2 separate regions of the Homo sapiens genome follow, and region 1 is linked to region 2. The links are contacts of gene promoters, found by promoter capture Hi-C in blood cells and fetal thymus (Javierre and others, 2016). All regions are on one chromosome and are shown on one strand. The core of a region is centred on a gene start or on the middle of the fragment in contact, and the rest is flanking DNA. Distances in the headings are between cores, read along the strand shown.

What was found. The method cuts DNA at HindIII sites, captures the fragments that hold promoters and counts their contacts. A CHiCAGO score of 5 or more calls a contact.
Region 1: a contact is called between a fragment that was not itself captured here and the fragment with the promoter of TIMM10 in region 2, in 13 of 17 cell types (total CD8 T cells, naive CD8 T cells, naive B cells and 10 more). The highest score is 27.2, in total CD8 T cells.

What each region holds. Positions count from the first base shown.
Region 1 is chr11:58,519,927-58,523,590 of GRCh38, forward strand. No RefSeq gene overlaps it. Among named protein-coding and RNA genes, the nearest start is that of OR5B21, 14 kb to the left of the region's middle. The HindIII fragment of the contact is 1,993 bases long and covers 883-2,875 here.
Region 2 is chr11:57,529,168-57,532,729 of GRCh38, forward strand. It overlaps TIMM10 (translocase of inner mitochondrial membrane 10), which reads right to left and starts at 1,587. Exons shown (of 3, transcript NM_012456.3): 1 at 1,491-1,587; 2 at 952-1,067. The coding sequence starts at 1,022. RefSeq lists an enhancer at 1,587-1,766. The HindIII fragment of the contact is 3,024 bases long and covers 1-1,760 here.

The sequences.
Region 1 (3,664 bases), core at 629-3,128, 990 kb after region 2:
GGCTCCTGAGCTCTTTTCTCATGGCTATGCCTCCTTGACCTGGGTGAGCTGTTTTCCATCTATGGGAAGTAGCTAACTGCATAGATTTCTGTGCCATGGAGATCGTTCACTCCTGAGTATTATTTTGTCAATATGTTGCTGTAAAGGAAGATTATGAGCTCAAACTCAAGCTCTTCTCTTAATCTCCCAGCATTTTCAATTCCATCAGCTTTCATCCTGAGCCTTAAAAAAGATTTCTAAAATCATACAAAAACAACTAAAAGCCTGCTATGGTTTCATGGTCTCCATGGAAATGCTAGGAATGGATGCTGTGTTGACTTCCTCACATATCTCTTGGACTATTTTGTTAATGCCTTTTATGTATGGTACTTGGCAGTTTACAAAGCCCTTTCTCACGTATTATCTCAGTTAATCCCCACAACAAACCCACGTGGATATTATTACCCATGTTTAACATATCATGAAACCTAAATTTGTAGAAGATAAGTGGTTTAACCAAGGTTTACAAGCGGTAAATTCACTTACAGTTTGCAAGTGGTAAACTCAACTTTTAAATTTTGGTTTGCCTGAAGCCATGGCTGCTATTCTTGCCACTATAACCAAAACAGTGTAGCCTAGAGCAGATCACTTTGATGCCCTAGTGCCCTTGCTTGTCCCTTGAAAATTCACCTCATGGGCACTTTACATTGTTGATATACAGCCTAAAAGAAAGCATCCCAGACAAGGAATTAACAAACTTTAGTTCTGTTTCTAAATCAAGTCACCTTGACCTATTCATGTAATCAACTGCTTCTTCCACAGGTAAATGGAAATAATAATCCTTGCCCACTTTCTCCCTTCTGTCATCCCCTCTACTAATACTACCTTAGATGAAATACATTAAGCTTCATAGAGCTGGGAATATTATAAAACTTTGCAAATGCATGGCTTACCACAAATTCGGTCTTGTGATTACCGGTAATGTGAAGTCCTTTGGTATGATTTTCTTCCTTTTAACCTTACCCCTCGATAACTTTACCCAACAAATGGCATTAGTTCCCCACCCCTATCTGTTGGCACTTACTGCTAGGTACACACTGCTGCTCCTACTCAAAGTGCCTGTGATTTAGAAAAAGGGCTTTCTTTGGCCTCAGAGTACATGCAGCTTGAGTACAAGGAAGACAAAGTGGGGTGTAAGGGTTGGTGGACCACCTCTTGTACTCTACAATGAATCCCAGAGGTCCTCTGAGTATTGAGTTCCAACTTCCCAAGACAGTAATCTGCTCATTAATGCACACTGATTTGGCTTCCTTGCCTTTTCTTTTTTGTTTGTTTGTTTTTTTGGGTTTTTTTTTTTTTTAGACGGAGTCTCACTCTGATGCCCAGGCTGGAGTGCAGTGGCGCTATCTTGGCTCACTGCAACCTCCTCCTCCCGGGTTCAAGCGATTCCTCTGCCTCAGCCTCCTGAGTAGCTGGGACTACAGGCTGCACACCACCACACCCGGCTAATTTTTTGTATTTTAGTAGAGACGGGGTTTCACTGTGTTGGTCAAGATGGTCTCGATCTCCTGACCTCGTGATCTGCCCACCTCGGCCTCCCTAAGTGCTGGGATTACAGGCGTAATCCCTGTAGAATATAGAAAATATCTCACTTTTGGCTCTTCTAGCTGTACATCTAGAGATTGCCTCCTAAATAGACTACTATACACAAGTCCTAGTCTCAGCATCCACTTCTAGAAAAACCCCAAATTGTGAGACAATCTAGGGTAAGTAGTAGCTTCACCAGGTAGTTTGTGTAAGGGAACTGAGTGACAATTCCCCCCACTCTGTCTTTCTTTTCCTCAGATAGTGTGTTATACGGCCCATCTTGCCTCCTTTACTGAAAGCTCTGAAAATTTCACCTTGCCCAACTCAAAAATTATCTTATATATCCTGTAACTTTCTTCCGTCCTACTTTTCCTCCATTTCAAAATTTTCAGATTATCTTAGGAAAATCTCCAAGTTCTTCATTTTATTTTTGAGCCTCCAATATTTTCTAACTCATGTCTGAAAATGCAAGAGCACCTAGAGACAGAAAGTCCTATTTTCTAAGTGTTATTGAACATAATGAAAATAACCACTTCAAACTTCCAAAGCATTGAAAAGTGTCCCTAAGGTCCCCTCTCAGAATCACTATAAATGTCTTCTTTTTCCTCCTTAACTTCATATAAACCCAATTTTCTTTAAGTAGCACCTTTCAGGATGTAATGGACTGAATGTGTCGTTCCAAAATATGTTGAAGGCCTAACCCCCAATGTGGCTGTATTTTAAGTAAAGAAGTAATTAAGATTAAACGAAATCATAAGGGTTGGGCCCTGATCTGATAAGATTGGTTTCCTTACAAGAAGAGACACCAGATCTCTTGTGGTCTCTCTCTCTCTCCCTCTTTTCACCCTGTGAGGACAAAGCAAGAAGGCAGCTATATGCAAGCCAAGAAAAGAGCCCTCAACAGAATTCAAACCTGCAGACCTTAATCTGAGACTTCTCATCTCCAGATCTATGAGAAAATAAATTTCTGTGGCTTAAGACACCCCATTTATGGTATTTTGTTTTGGCAACTGCGCAGACTAAGACACAGGATAAATGTAAATTGATTTCTCTTATAATCGTCTAATTTTTCTTCCTTTTTTGTTTGCTAGTGGGGTATCAGGATGTTTTAAAACTAGTTTTCACTATAAAGAGTATTGCAGTAATATCAAATACGTAATAGTTCTCTCTGGATTATAATTAAACAAAGTAGCATGAATACCATCATTTCCAAAACAATTTTAAATCTTAGAGGATGACAACACCCTCACAACCTTTTTCTTCCCCTTTGTAATAGTGACAGATACTGCAAAATTGGACAGGAGCAAGAAGCTTGTACTCTAAATATGCGAGCTATCCACAGGATGACTTAACCTTAAACTACAGAGTTTCACTGTGCTCTGGTGTAAAAAGCATCAAGAAGTGATCAAACACTATTTTTGTGTATTAGTTTTTCATGACGATATACAATATACGTTCTGTACCAACACTGAGTTTATTTGTTCAATGTAAACAAAAAAGAGAATTTATTTGCTCACATAATTTCCTAGTCTATGGTTAAGATGCTGCTATGGTAGAACTGAGTGGCTCAAAAAAAGAAAACACAGCCTCTCCATTACTTGGTTCTACGTTCCACTGTGCTGGCCTCTTTCTCAGACAGCCTCCCCCAAGTGATGATAAAAATATTTATCAGCAGCAATGGGTTTTTATTATCCGCACAACTAGAATTCCAACGAATGGGAATGTTCTTTCTGAATAAATCTAGTAAAGGTCATTGGCTTTGCTGAGGTCACATGTCTATCCCTGATCCAATCACCTTCCTTCAGAAGAACAAAGTACTTTTATTGGTCAGACCTGGGACTGTACCTATTTCTGAGGCTGAGGTTAAAGTCAGCCTTGCCTAAACACATGGACCAAGAATGGGAGATGCAGTTCTTTGTGGAGAAACTAGACTGTGGGGAAAAACAGCTCAGAAATTCACTCCCCTTTCATTTCACGTCCCATCCTCAATTATATCCAATAATATTATTCAACATAGCATATCAAAGTCCAAAAACATTAAAATCCAAAATCAAATTCTCTAAGTTAAAGTTTAGAGAAAGTAAAGCCTTCTTTGATT
Region 2 (3,562 bases), core at 337-2,836:
TGCATTCTGTTATGCAATGCTTACAATAACCCTAAGAGACATGTATCCCCATTTTACAGATGAGGAAATTAAGGCAAACAGAGGCTCAGTAATTTTCTAAGGATCACACAGAGCTGGGTTATGAAGCCAGGTCATCTGACCTCACAGTCTACACTTAAAAATCCTTCTAATTTATAGCCTTCAGGATAAACCAACCAATCAAGAGAGCTTAAGCCAATAAAAATAGCAGACATTTCACTAAGTGTTGGGCTTGAGGCTAAGGGCTTTCATATATTTTTAGATTTAATATTTATGATGTCCTATGAGGTAGGTATCATTATGTCTTCTTCATAATGAGGAAACCAATTGTCAAACAGTGCAAGTAACATGTCCAATTATACTGCTGGTGATTGGTGGAGCCAGGATTTGTTCCCAAATTTGCCAAATGGTTATGAGCACTAGTTGCAGAATCAGACTGAGGTGCTAGTTCTGGCATTGTTACTGACCAGCTGCCGACCCTAAGGAAGTTACTTAACCTCTAGAATCATCAATTTCCTCATTTTAAGACGGGACTAATAAAATTAACCCACTGGATTATTTTGAAGATTAACAAGTGCCTGACACAGAATAAAGGGTTTTAAAATGTTAACTACTAAATGGGCTGGCTATGTGCTATTTGTCAAGAGGCAAATACTCAGCTTTTCTTGGAACCTAACCAGAGCCTGGATTGGAGTTTCTCTTCCTGCTTGGCTCCTGCATTGCCAGTTCCATCCCCATCTAAATGCCCAACTCATTCTAGTGACCCTTTACTGCATCTACATTAGGATCAACCTTGAAGGTGGGTGTGGGGAGGGTAAGCATGGGCCTCAGGCTCCCCTACATTCAGGAAGGAATTTGTCATAAGTCATTCACCTTCGATAAGGGTGACCAAGACTTATTTTCCAAGACAGGGTAGCACATAGTTCTCTTTACCTGTTGTACATATCGGCCATCATCTCCACCTCCAGCTCCGCAGCCAGCTGTTGGGCCCTGAGAGGATCCATCTCAGCCTAGCACCGTGGAAGGGATCTCCTTCTGGCCTCCTAATCCTGGGAGCAGACATCACCATCAGCACCCACCGCCGCCGTTCACTCTCCTACCCCTGGGGCTAGAGGATACAGAGGACTCACAGGGCGCCAGACCACCACGGGCCACTAACCTCAGTGAGCTTAACCACCCCATTTCACGGATGTGGAAACTGAGGCCTAGCCCAAGGTCGCACAGGACGTCTATGGCGAGCCTGGAAATCGAGCCCCGGATCTCTGATGCCCCAGTTCCTGGAGGTCACCTCTATTCAGGAGATCGAGGACCGGAGGAGAACTCTCTAACCCACGAACCTGAACCTCCAGGGCCCTGGGAATGGGATCATACGCTGAACAGAGGCGACCGGGACCCAGCCCAAAGGCTACACCTCTGAAATGGCGACGCCATCATCAGGGCCACATTGAATTCAGAGGTCATGTGTCACTTACCACTGCCTGGGACGGATCACAATGCCCACGGAGACCCCAACTTCTGACAAATACTATAACGTTACCCGCCTCCCGAGAGGCTCCAGCGGAAGCACGTGGGTTACTTCCGGGAGGAAAGTCCCGCCTCTTCTTTGATTCAAACTCGCTTCCGGAATTAAATACCAACGAGACGGCGCCGGGAACTCGGCGATCATAGAGAGGGAGCGGCTGGCGCCGGGCGAAGAGGAAGGCGACTTGCCAGTGCTAGAGAGGACACCAAAGTACCATAGAAGCTTGGGCGGGGTGCAGAGCGTCTGCAGCCCGATCAGAATTCAAGTCCTTTGGGATGTCACCGAGCGGCTTCAGTTTATTGGTTCTGTAGGAAGAGGCGTGGCGACAGACACCTGTGAACCTCACCCCCGTTCCAGACAGCCGACTCCTGTGCGCAAATCAGGCGTGGAGAAGGAAGAACGCCCCCAAACAGCGGTTCTGTTTTTGTTTCGCGTTAAAATCACCTGGAACGTTTTTAAACATCCCAGTGCCCAGGACTCACCTCATTTCAATTAAATCAGAATCTCTGGGAGTACAGTTTAAAATTCCTCAGGCAGCAATACAATTTAAAATTCCCCAGGTGATTCGTATGTACAGCCAAATTTGAGAAGCAGTGCTCCACGGGACGTTGTGCGATTACTGCTGTGTGTAGGTCACACTAAGCCCCGTCTGGGGTTGCAAAGATAAGCGAGATAGGCTTCCTGTTCGCAGAAAGACAAGACGTGTAAAATATGTTTTCTTCAACAGTTAGAGGTCCTCAGCCACAAAGAGATAATAAAAGCAATTTCGGCTGCCACCAGGGCTAATCTTGGGTGAGGGAAAGAAGGGTACTGGTGAACTTTCCAACTTTCAAGACTTAATGTGTTCTTCAAACTGCACCATTCACTCATTCCCCACTAAAAAGAAGGAAACAAGGAAACAATACTCAGTCCCTTGATTTGTCACACAATTTCCTGGTAAAATAAATTTACAAGATGTAAATTAATGACGCAAGGGCACATTGCCCATTGGAAAAGGTGGGCTAGACATTTTCTGTGTGGTCATCATAAGCTTCCCTAATTGTCCAAGACCATCCTAATTTTAAACAATTGACCTTTCTACTGCTTTGAAGACTCATCTTTGCCAAACTTGTGCCCTGATTTTTAAAGATTGGGGTATAACATTCATAAAGTGCATAAAATACACGAATGTTAAGCTTAATTAAATATATATGTATCTATATATGTACATTTGTATAACCGCCATCCAGATCAAGATATAAAATACTTCCTGCACCCCAAAAAGTTATCTTGTGTTCCTTCCCCATCAATACCCCCTCTCGAAGTTAACCACTATTCTGACCTCTATCACCATCAATTAGTTTTCCTTGTTCTTGAACTTCGTGTAAATGGAATTATACATTATTTTCTATTTTGTGCCTGACTTCTTTAGCTCAATGTACCTGTAAGATTTCCTCCATATTGTTGTGTGCATCTGTTATTCCTTCTGTTTTATTGCTGTCTAGTGTTTGATTGTATGAGTATGCCACAATTCATCTATCCATTCTCCCGTTGGTGGATGTTTGGATTGTTTCCAGTTTTTGCCTATTATGCAATAATGCTGCTATGATACTCTTGTACAGATGGACATATCTTGCCTTGGTTTTTGCCTTTGAAAATATAGTCAACATTGGCCGGGTGCAGTGGCTCACGCCTGTAATCCCAGCACTTTGGGAGGCTGAGGTGGGTGGATCACCTGAGGTCAGGAGTTCGAGACCAGCCTGGCCAACTTGGTGAAACCCCATCTCTACTAAAAATACAAAAAAGTAGCCCGGTGTGGTGACGGGTGCTTGTAATCCCAGCTACTCAAGAGGCTAAGCAGGAGGCTAAGGCAGGAGAAACACTTGAACCCGGGAGGCAGAGGTTGCAGTGAGCCAAGATCGCACCATTGCACTCCAGCCTGGGCAACAAGAGTGAAACTCCGACCCCCCACTCCCCGCAAAAAAGAAACATTATGGAAAGTTAAGAAACTGCGTGGGAAAAGGAGATGGTTTCTTACAAGAG